Regions from separate parts of the Homo sapiens genome. Here region 2 is linked to region 1. Evidence: promoter capture Hi-C in 16 types of primary human blood cells and fetal thymus (Javierre and others, 2016). All regions are on one chromosome and are shown on one strand. Each heading gives the region's core, a stretch centred on a gene start or on the middle of the fragment in contact. The rest is flanking DNA. Distances are from core to core; before and after follow the strand shown. Region 1 holds the start of HABP2 (hyaluronan binding protein 2). Region 2 overlaps VTI1A (vesicle transport through interaction with t-SNAREs 1A).

Region 1 (5,499 bases), core at 337-2,836:
GGATTAGGGGAAGGACAGAGTAGGGCTAGAGAAGAACTTTCTAGGAAAAGGGACTACAGCCAGGCGCAGTGGCTTATGCCTATAATCCTAGCACTTTGGGAGCCTGAGGCGGGTGGATCACCTGAGGTCAGGAGTTTGAGACCAGCCTGGCCAAGATGGCGAAATGCCGTCTCTACTAAAAATACAAAAATTAGCCAGCCATGGTGGCATACACCTGTATTCCCAGCTATTCAGGAGGCTGAGGCAGGAGAATCACTTGAATCCAGGAGGCAGAGGTTGCAGTGAGCCAAGATCACGCCACTGCACTTCAGCCTGGATGACAGAGTGAGACTCTGTCTCAAAATAATAATAATAATAATAATAAAAAGAAAAAGGGACTACTAACATGGGCTTGTATTATGGTGATCAGGTGGATGTTGATGGTATAGGAGGCGGGGTGGGGGGAGTTGATGGCTGCCTAAAATAGGATGGAGACAAAAATATGTGGATAAAAGAAAATAATGTGGAAGTCATTTAGGAGGTAAAATGGCAGGACCAGGACTTGGCTAGTCCTTCAAGGCTCATCTGGTGACTGGGGCATTCTTTTGGGCTGGGATCTGTGGGGCCCTCCCCGGCTAGCAACTTGGCTTTCAGAAGTAGATGCAGCCACTGATGCAGTCCACGTGCCAAACAGGGATGGCAGGTAGGGGCAGGGCTGGGCAGGGGGGCACAGGTGAGCACATGCCTCCGCTGGCAGCAGCATTTCAAAACCTGGATTTATGACTCAAGTCAGGAGGATTCCTGGAACCCAGGCATAGATTTCTGTGGGCAGTCAGTTGTTTACAGGAGATTAAGATCATGCCTATTAAAGAGATCAATTGTGTCCACAAGAACCCACACTTAATAGGTAATTGCTGCTTGACAGAACTCTACCTGCAACCAGCATAGCTAAATAAGGAACATAGGAAACAATTGTCCTGAAATATGAACACCATGTTTTTTTTCCTCCGCTTGATCAAAGAAAGACTCCAGCAAAAGGGGAAAAAATAATTAAAAAGTAAAAGTCTTACCTAATGAGGTTTAAAACAAAACTTTTGAAGCCAACAAGCAACTGTGGGCAACACTTCAAAGGGCCCAGAATCAATGTTTGTCAATAGCAGTTTTGCATCCTTTAATTTATGTCTCATGAATATAAAGTGTGATGTTATTAGGAGCCCATCCATGCCTTAATTCTGTTTGAGATTTGATGAACCAGAAGTCTATTAACATTCTGTACAAATCAGCACTGGCAGAGGCCTGTGGCACAGGCTTCACCTGATCTTTTATCCTGAGGCTGGGATGCTAGTCACGCTGTCAGGCTTCCTGCTCGGAACACCCAGCAGCTGTCATGTGCACCGTGGAGCCAGGGGGCTATGTCAGCTACTTTCTTTGGAGAGTTTCTCCCCAGAAGAGAAACCACTTCATGACTCAGCCCAGCCCCAAAGTTGCCATTTGTTTAATCAAGATAGTTAGTTTGCAAAACATTAAACATTAAACAGTATTTGATGCCTAGTTAATAATTTGCATCCTCTTCATTTGTTCCTGAATCCTTGGAGACTGACATTTTTCCCCCCTAAAGGCATAGACAACAAAAGAAATTTTATTGAGAGGAAAACACAAGTCCTTAAACTGCAAAGATGTTTGCCAGGATGTCTGATCTCCATGTTCTGCTGTTAATGGCTCTGGTGGGAAAGACAGCCTGTGGGGTAAGTGTTCTTTTCTAATATTTGTAGTTGAGAGACTCCGAAGTTTACTAGGAGGACCAAGCTAGGCTGGGAGTGATGAGAAACTTTAGAGTGAAAGGCTGGAGTTGCCAAGTTGGAGATGTTCTAACTACAAGAACCAATGCAGGCCTGTGGCTTGGTTTCTTTTGAGCAGCCACTCCCATGGGAACAGGTGTCTGACTTGAGCCATCTTGGAGCGGAGCCTCCATGAATGCATTCCAGCAAAGGAGACTGGGGCAAGAAAATGTGCCCCAGGGCATGGATTGTAATCTGTCATGGATCTCATAGACCCCTTTGAGAAGCCATGGAAAGCTATAAACTCTCTCCCCAGGAAAATATACCTATCTATTGGTGCTGACACACACAGTTTTCCAGCGATTTGTGGCTGACACTAGGGTAAGAAGCAATGTGCTATGGCCTTAGAGGGGAAGCCTGCTGACTGCAAAAGATCCTGGCAGTGGGTCTGCATAAATAGTTTGGATTTGGGGAGAAGCTTTGTGTTTAGTACTTTGTCTCCTTTTCCCTGTGACAGCAGCAGATGAGGCAGAGAAGGTGAGCAGGGGCCCAAGGGAGGTTGCAGTGCGCAGGGAAGGGAAGTCCCATCAGAGAGTCTTGAACGGGGGACTCAGGACCTTCCGGAGCAGATGACTTGTCAAGATGTTAGTTCCTTCTGTGTGCCATGGTCCAAGAGTGTCAGATGGATCTCTGTGGGCATGGAAAGAGGACCTTGCACAGAAATAGAGTCTCCTTGGAGTTCCGTGCTGGTTGTGGTCTGAGGCATGAATGTGGGCTTTGGAGCCAGGGTTCGAATCTCAGCTTTGCCACATTCTAGCTGTGGAATGTTGGGCAAGGAACATAATCTCTCTGAGCCTCAGTGTTGTCTTCTGCAAATCAAGTGCTAACCTCTCATAGATTTGGGGAGGGCCACAAGTAAACGAGGTCATGTATGTGGCTTGCAAATAAATGTGAGCTCTACTCCCTTAAAATGTCAAGAATGAACACAACTTCTCCATAAAAATCAGAGAATGCTCCGCCTTGTTCGGGAGGGGTGGTAGAAAGTGGGCAGAGGATAAGAACTAAAATAACAGTCATAACCTCTCTGTCTTATTAAGTACCTTTGCATTTTGTTCCCCATTTCACTCCATAGAGCGTTTCCTGAATGAAGCAGATTAAGTTACAGTTTTCTGATTAGCATGTTTTTAAAACAATAGCTTCTCCTTTCTTTTCCGTCAACTGTGCTCAGACACCTATCTTAGCTCTGTATTAAGTTGCCAAGTGACTCACTTCTGAAAGGGTTTTCTTTTCAAATCATGACTTGTGTGTGTGTGGTGGTTGTAATTACAAATTGTTGTCAAGCCCCTACATCATTTGATGGCTTGTTGGTGTCTGAGGCCGAGACACAGCAGAAATACCACAGGTCTAGAGAAAGGCAGGAGAAATCATCGGAGGCCCACGCGGGGCCCAGAGAACATACCAGTCGGAAAGAATTAGATCCTAAACTTTGCGGGCAAGGAGAAACGTTGACACGGTATGTTTGAAGTTCACAAAAGGATAATGGTCCCGAAAAATCCCTTTTTTGCAAACCCCATTGAATTTTTAGGGTTAGCAATGAAATTATAAGTCAATAATGGATAAAAGAGAAAATATGAGAGTTAGCCTTCAGGCAATGAGCTTAGTCAATTCCAAAGAGAGGATTCGGGGCTTTGGAATGCTTTCTTACCCCAGATGTGTGCCAGACAGGTGGTCGGGAAGGCGGCTTGTGTTCCACAGGCTGGCATACAGACATCAGGGGAAAGTGGCCAAGTCGTTCAGATGCTTTGGAGAGTTTGGGGCGTCATGGGGGTAAAGAAGCCACATAGCCAGCTGGGCTGGGTGGCCTCTCCAGCCCCACACAGCTAAAAGTCATAACTAACTGCTACCATTTAATGAGAAGTCCTGAGTGCTAGCCCCTGAACTTTCCATGAATTGGTTCATCTCTGGAAGGACCCCAAGAAGTAATTCCTACTATGCTCCCATTTTACAGAAACGAAGCTGGAAAACTGGGCCTGTCCCAAGTCATACAGCTGATGAGTGGCAGAGCTGAGCTCTGGATTACAGACTGGTTTCCGTGTAGCCAGTCTCCTGTCTGGGGCCCTGGGTGAGGATGAGATTTCTTTGGTTCGTACAGCTTCAGGGACATGGCTTTTCCTGTAGGGAAAGGCCTCTTAGACCAGGCACATGTTTGCTGGGTGGAGTGTAATGGACTCCACGTGTCTCTGAAACTCCAAAGAAAGGCAGCTATAGGATCTGTGGTCACTATTCATTGGAAAGACACCCAGGTACTCTCCCATGAATTCAGATCATGTAGCAAATGAGGACTGTTCTTTGGGATCATCTGTCATGGAGATTTTTATTCTGATATCCACTAGCCCAAGAGATATGGGTCAAAAATCATTGCTGTGAACTCCAGGGCATCATTCATTGTGCCTTGCTGTTCTACTCGAGGTTTGGTTTTCCTAACATATCATTTTTGAGCACCTGTCCAGCACAACCTCATATCATTATCCCTGTTTTATGGATGAGATACAAACCCAGAGATGTTAAAATGACTTTCTGGCCAGGATTGGGGCCAGGTCTGTCTGACTCCACATTCATCACAGGAGGCCTGCTTAACTGTAAATAAGGCGTGGACTGTCTTAGAAATCTCTTCTTGCTAGGATTCTTAGAGTGATTTGGGGCCCAGCTGGGCTCAGCCATAATGGAATTTGGCCTCTCCAAGCCCAGAAACCAGAGGACAATGTTTGTCAAGCTTGCCTGCTTATCTCAGCCCATCCCTAGAAAGAAGAAAGACAAAGGCTTCTCCTCTCCCCTGCAAAGGAGGTGCTTTCAATTAAAACAATGTTTACATTTCTGGGCTTTTAAAACCCTAGAACTCTAGAATCTTCCCAGGGATAGAGCCACAAAACAGTTTGCATAGGTCAGAAGTTGCAAATTGGCAGCTTGAAATACACTCTGCTCACAGCTCAAGTTTAACTTGGTGGATAGAAGATTGACTCCAAGAGTATTTTAGTTTTATTTTAATTGCTTGGCCACATTTGAAAATCGGAACACAGAACATTTCCCATTAAAGATACAGATTCCCAGCTTTTCTTGAAAATCAGACATTTGAGTAGCATTGGGTTCACATTCTTGGCTGGCACCATGGAGAGGGGTAGCCACCGCTGCTGTTATTAGATGAAGTTTGAGGCCAGGCATGGTAGCTCATGCCTGTAATCCCAGCACTTTGGGAGTCCAAGGTGGGAGGATTGCTTGAGGCCAGGAGTTTGAGACTAGCAACATAGCAAGACTCTGTCTCTATCAAAAAAAATTTTTTTTAAATTAAGCGGGTGTGGTGGTACATGTCTGTAGTCTCAGCTACTTGGGAGGCTGAGGCAGAAGCGTCACTTGAACCCAGGAGGTAGAGATTGCAATGAGCAGAGAAGGTGCCATTGCATCCTGCCTTGGCAACAGAGCAAGACTCCATCTCAAAAAAAGTTTAAAAAAAAAAAGAAAGAAAGAAAAAAGAAGCTTGAGTTTCCCAGATCCTGCTCCTCTCTCTTTCTTTGATTCTTTTATTCTTTTTTTTTTTTTTTTTTTTGTAGAGACTGGTTTTTGCTATTTTGCACAAAGCTGGTGTTGAACTCCTGACCTTAAGTGATCCTCTAGCCTTGGCCTCTCAAAGTGCTGAGATGACAGGTGTGAAGCATCATGCCTGGCCCCCATACTATCTAGAACTCTT
Region 2 (5,914 bases), core at 2,802-5,301, 990 kb before region 1:
AATAGAAATGGTAACATAAGAATAATGAGATTATAGATTTTTTCCCTATTCTGAATTTTCTAACATGTTACTATTTAATTTTACAATTAAAAAAGAATTTTCTCTATATTTAAAGTGCCTAAAATCTATTCTTGAAAAATTATTTCACATCATAGTTTTTCAAATATATATGCATACACACACAACATACACAGAGATACAGAGTGCGAGTGGGGAGAGATTCCATATGTCAATATCATGAAGAAGCCAAATGCTGGTAAAACATAATTTTTACTTACGTTTGTTTCTCCTTATTTAACTGCCTGAATTATGTAGTAGTAGGATTTATGTCTAAGGTTCAATATCTCTGGAAATTCTACAGTAACAGACTTTAAAAACTCTTTCTATGTATGCTTTTAACTTCCTTGGCCTATTCCTTTGGATTATTCTGGCTTCATAATGGTGATTTCCTGGTTTCTCTAAACACAGTTGTACCCATTTCAGCAATATTTATATGTGAAAGAAAGTGGAAATTAGAATCCAGATTTGTTGACCCTTGAGATCTTATATTGACCTTAGTAGGTGTTAACTTTTTAGATCAATAAAGAGCTGTTATTGACCTCAAAGAAAAGTCAATATCTGCTTGTTAATTTGCAGCTTAGAAATGTTATACATTTTGTTCTTCATTATTACCCTACTTATTTCAGCCTTTTAAAAAAATGTCTCTACTGTTTCCGCTAGAGATCATCATGTCTAGATCAACATTTTAGTTTTGGTGTTTAAGGAGATAATCATTGGACATGGTGGTCATTTATCAGTGCTCCATTTTAGTTTCTTATAAAATTGCAACTGTCTGAGATTCATACTATACAGAAAAGTGAAATATATTTAATTGTACTTGATTTACTGTTGTTATTAATGTTTGAGAAACAATTTTAAGTAATCTATAGCTCATGGCAAGAATATTCTGACATGTATATATGAGAAATGAAAAGGAAGTTAAATTGGAAACAAGTGGTCTGAAAAGAGATTAATAATGTTTTGCTTTTCTGTGTATAAATGGAAATAATCTGTGTAGATTGAGGTTTCGCATACACTTTTCATGTGGATAAACATTTAAAGCTTTTAGGTAAGGACTTCTTATGTGAGTCTGAATCGTAGAAGCCTATGATTCTAAAGTTTTATTAAGTGTTTAAGTATTGGTAGAGAAGTCGCTTTTCACATCATCGTTGTTTTGTATATTAACATGGAAATGTCAAGTTTTGCATAACTTGAAATGTCTCAGAATTGCCTATTGCTGAAATTCAAATGTCAGAACAATGCTTCTGCAAATATATGACTCTGATATTTCAACTCTAAAAACCTCATAAATGATTCAGTATCAGTTTGGCCTTGTTATGATATAACTTTTAAAAGAGGCAGAGTGATTTAAATCTGTTCTAGAAAATGGTGGTCTCATTCAGTGTAGACATCAAACACAAATCTCTCAACCCATTAATGCTCATTAATTTTTTTATTATGTTACCATTTTGGCAAAGAATTTAAGTTTTCATGAGGACTCTTTAAGTATATTTCACCATTGTAAAAATGAAGCTATTTCTTTGTGAGCAACAGGATTGGCTTATATCTTATCCTAATTTGTGGCATTAATTGTTTTAGAGGGCTCAATACTTTTTGTAAAAGAAAATTTTTTTTGTTTTTCAAGCGATGAATGCCTTCTAGGACATAAATGATATATAGAGACCAAAAGGCCTGTAGAAATAAACCTTCTACTATTAATTTACTCTTCCAAATTTTGCATGGCATCTAAATATTTAAAATTAAAAGTTTTACAGCTGGCATAAGCCTTGGAGATAAGAAACCTGACTTTGTCATTTTATACAGAAAACTGAGTCTTGATGTCTAGTCCCTATTTATTGTTACTGGCTTTGAATTTTTTATTTGAAAATCTCAATATTGTTGACCGTTACTGATATATTAATGGTTTGAATAAAATAACTTTACTAGTCCCATATTTTTATATTAAGTATTTTTTTTCTTATGGAAGAAAAGCTTTCCACAGGGGAACTTTATTGCTTGAAGAATCTTATTTTCATACATATTCTTAATAGCCTCTTTTACTTTCTCTTCTAGGATATAAAGTTTTGATAATTAAAATTTGTCAACATTTCAATATGATAAAATTGATATGTTTAGTGGCGTGCTATTCCAGAAATTTTTAAAAATGCCATTAGGATCATAACTTGGAGTGTGTACCTTGGCATGTTTAATTTTTCCTCTGCTAGGAGATTAGTGGAAAATAAGCTCTGTAAATTAAATTTTATTGCAAAATTATCTTCCGATGTTCAGCAGTAAAGATAGTATTGAGTGATAAGGCTGGAGTGGATTTTGTATAAAGCAATTATAGCATGAAGACCACAATCTGAATGAAAAATATTGCTGAAGATTTCCTATAGTCTGTAGAAATGTCATTTTGGAATGTGTTTAAAATTGCCTCATTTTATGCAGGTGATTATAATACTTAAGGTATATTGCAGTTTGAAAACAGCATTACTGAATAATTTTAAGGACCATTTATATATGGTGGGAGGAACAAATTATATATATATATTCACACTTGGACAATTGTTATCATTTCAAAACATTTCTCCACTACTGGAGATTTTTCTGTAAAGCTTGCTTTCTCCAGTGAGCCCATCTTTCTCTTTAGATAACTGCATATGAAAGGTGGGATCAAAATGCCCACTGTGTATTTTACTCTCACCCTGGCATGTGTAAAGGAGGACTTCTTCTCCAGGGCTCCACCATGTAGATGAAGAAGCACCTGGTGTTTTAATAACTTTATTTACACCTCAACTCTTGAATTTAACCTTTACATAGCAATTAGAAACAGATAAGAACAAAGATATTGTTCTTGAATGAGGTAGAAAAGGCGTGGTTTGAAAGGGCTTCCTACAAGTAAAATTGAAGAAGAAAATACGCATGCACGTGTGTCTGTAGCCACCCACCCCTCAACTCCTGTTCATGTGTGTTTCCTGGACTTGCATTCTTCATTCCCCCAAAATCAAGGCACATTTAGTGAATGTCTAGTCTGAGCAAGTCAGTGTCTCTAAGTACCAGAATGGTGGAGACAGAGAAATCACAGTGTATGGCAGTGTCAGGACTGGGCTTCATCCCAAGGAAGTGAAAATCCAGTAGTATTTACAGTAGAAATTATTAAAAGAATCTGTTTCCTAATGGGCAGAGGATCCTGTCGTCCTTTAATTTTTTTAAAAAAAAGTCATGCCCTTTAATAAATAATCATGTAAAAGGGAAAAACCTCTGATTTTAGAAGTTACTTTTTATTTCTTTACAGGGAGCTGGGAAAAGACAGCTTATTGATTCAGTGTGCATAAATACTTATCATAGACTTACTGTGTAGCCATTACTTTAGGCAATTCATCCAGCTAAATAGCCTCTAATGCTATCATGAATGAAGACTATAGAGGTTTATCAAGATGAAAATAGCCCATTAAGAATTGATCTGAACCAGTTTAGAGAAGCAGAGCCTGAGACCTGGCCTGTGCAGCTTTGGCTAGTAAAAGTTCACTTGGTGCTGGGCATATACCAGCTCCACAGGCCCCAACTTTATTAGTGTGGAGATAAGCTGATTAGGTCCTGTCAATCAAAGGTGCCCATATCTCAATTGAGAGACACACACTCTCTCTCGATTTTTCTTTAAGCATTGAAGCAGGCAACAAAGAAAGAGATGTGTGGTATGCATCCCTACGGTTGTCACCATGCAGGGTGCAAGGGTCCTGTGATGATGTGGTGACTGTATTAAAGAGTACATCAATTTGTTTTAAAGTGTTTTGATTTTTTATGGTGGCATTAAGAGAGAGAACATTGTGGTTGCAGCTTTACTAGAAAGCAAAGAGTTCTAGAAGAAGAAAAAAAAAGTGTTTCTTTGAAGCCTACCAGGGCTTTGAATCTTGCTGTGCCAATGGGCGCTTAAGTGCTCCCGTAACTGGCAACCTCAGATCCACCATCAGCTTAGGAACTACCATCCTCTCCAAATAATTCATTTAAAGGAATAGGAAAAAAATGTGTAAATTGACCTAAGCAATATTAATGATGATTGACTGCAAGTTTTTCTTTCTTTAAGTGATTTCAGATTTTGGATGAACATATAACACATGTTGGTTATACTGATGTGCACTGATTCCGTTGTAAAGAGCAGAGATACTTCTAAATTTTGCCCAAGTACAGATTGGCAACATTGCTCCATTTAATTGTTTCATACATAATAATGAATGCTTTACTTTGTATATCTGGAAAATAAACCTGACTAATAAATATAGGCTGTCAAAGTATAATTCTGTAGGGCTTCAGCTTGAGACCTCATCATCTCGTCAGTATTGAGAAAAAGGTAGAGCGATGGTGTAGGGGGAAAACCTGGCCTTTTGTTCTTTACATCTGAAGTTTGCTCACTGCAGGCCTCCTTCCCACTTCAAATGCAACAACAGAAAGGAGGCCTTCCTCTTCTTCCCTCACCCTACATGCACCCCCCAGTGCTGCCATCCCGCACAGCCACGTTTCCACAGTGGATTATCTCTTTATCAGCTATTCTTCCCTTCACTCCATCCATTTTCCACTAACCAATCAGGCAGCCCTCTTAGGAAAGACTGGTGCTTACTTCAATAAAATGTTAATTCTGTACACACAGAGCCACACAGCCATTCTAGATGTTGCTTGTAACAGAAAAGCATTCATGTACCCCAGACATGGAGAATACCTGTATTGGGTGTCTTATGAGAAAAAATTGGGGGAAATAAAGTTATGATGGGTAGTAGTTACTGAAATGGAAAAGGTATTCTATTCTTTATAGTGCTGACCAGCCAGAGTGGCCACACACGTGTGTGGGGATGTACCCATGGTTACCTAAAAACATGCATCCTGCTTTTAAGGCATCTGAGATAGTAAAAGCTAGTTTGTCACTTGTAGTTCTAACTGACCCAGACAGGAGTAATTGCAGTGCTGACTCTGGTCCATTGAGTGTATGATCTTGAAAGGCCTTCTGACTCTAGAAAGATTAGGGTGAGCGATGTTTAGTAATGGGTGTACTTTAACATATAAAGATTTTCTATTCAGGATTCTCTGCTTTGAGAGTTTTTATTACTGGATTATCTTAATAGTGATAGGTCTTTAGAGTACTTACTAGGGTTTTTTTAAATAAGAAAAAATGTAGTATGCAACTTTCCAGAAATACCTTTTTTTAAAAGTGTTGATGCATTCGCATGTGAAAGGAACTTGGCTAAGCTCCTTCTCATGGTTTAGGTTTCTAGTTTAATGTTATGTCTTCAAAGAAGACTACCCTGACCACTCTTTCTAAAGCAGGCTTCCCCTGAATCTTACCAAGCCCCTTCCTCATAACATTAATTGTAAGGAGTAATCCATTACTCATTTTTTGTTTGCCTTCTCCACAAGAATGTAAGCTTCCTGAGAGGCATTTTGTTGAATGATTGAAGGAAATGGGCAGCTATATTCCTTTACTGCAAATAGAAGTGCTTTTTTTTTTTTTTTTTTGCGATGGAGTCTCACTCTGTCGCCAGTCTGGAGTGCAGTGGCATGATCTCGGCTCACTGCAACTTCTGCCTCCCGGGTTCAAGTGATTCTCCTGCCTCAGCCTCCCGAGTAGCTGGGACTACAGGCGCGCACCATCACGCCCAGCTAATTTTTGTATTTTTAGTAGAGACGAGGTTTCACCATGTTGGCCAGGATGGTCTCTATCTCTTGACCTCAAGTGATCCACCCACCTCGGCCTCCCAGAGTGCTGGGATTACAGGCGTGAGCCACCGCGCCTGGCCAGAAGTGCTTATTTCAAAAAGTTTCTCACTAACCTTTAGCATTATAATAATTATAGCCATTTCCCATCCCAGACCACTTTTAAGAAGAT

The links. Contacts are between HindIII fragments. The CHiCAGO score rates a contact against its expected background, and 5 or more counts as called.
Region 2: a contact is called between a fragment that was not itself captured here and the fragment with the promoter of HABP2 in region 1, in 2 of 17 cell types (M1 macrophages and M2 macrophages). The highest score is 5.9, in M1 macrophages.

The regions. Positions count from the first base shown.
Region 1 is chr10:113,551,467-113,556,965 of GRCh38, forward strand. HABP2 (hyaluronan binding protein 2) reads left to right here and starts at 1,587. Exons shown (of 13, transcript NM_004132.5): 1 at 1,587-1,724. The coding sequence starts at 1,656. The HindIII fragment of the contact is 3,226 bases long and covers 1-2,233 here.
Region 2 is chr10:112,555,072-112,560,985 of GRCh38, forward strand. The region is part of intron 5 of VTI1A (vesicle transport through interaction with t-SNAREs 1A); the gene reads left to right. Among named protein-coding and RNA genes, the nearest start is that of MIR4295, 76 kb to the right of the region's middle. The HindIII fragment of the contact is 2,799 bases long and covers 2,653-5,451 here.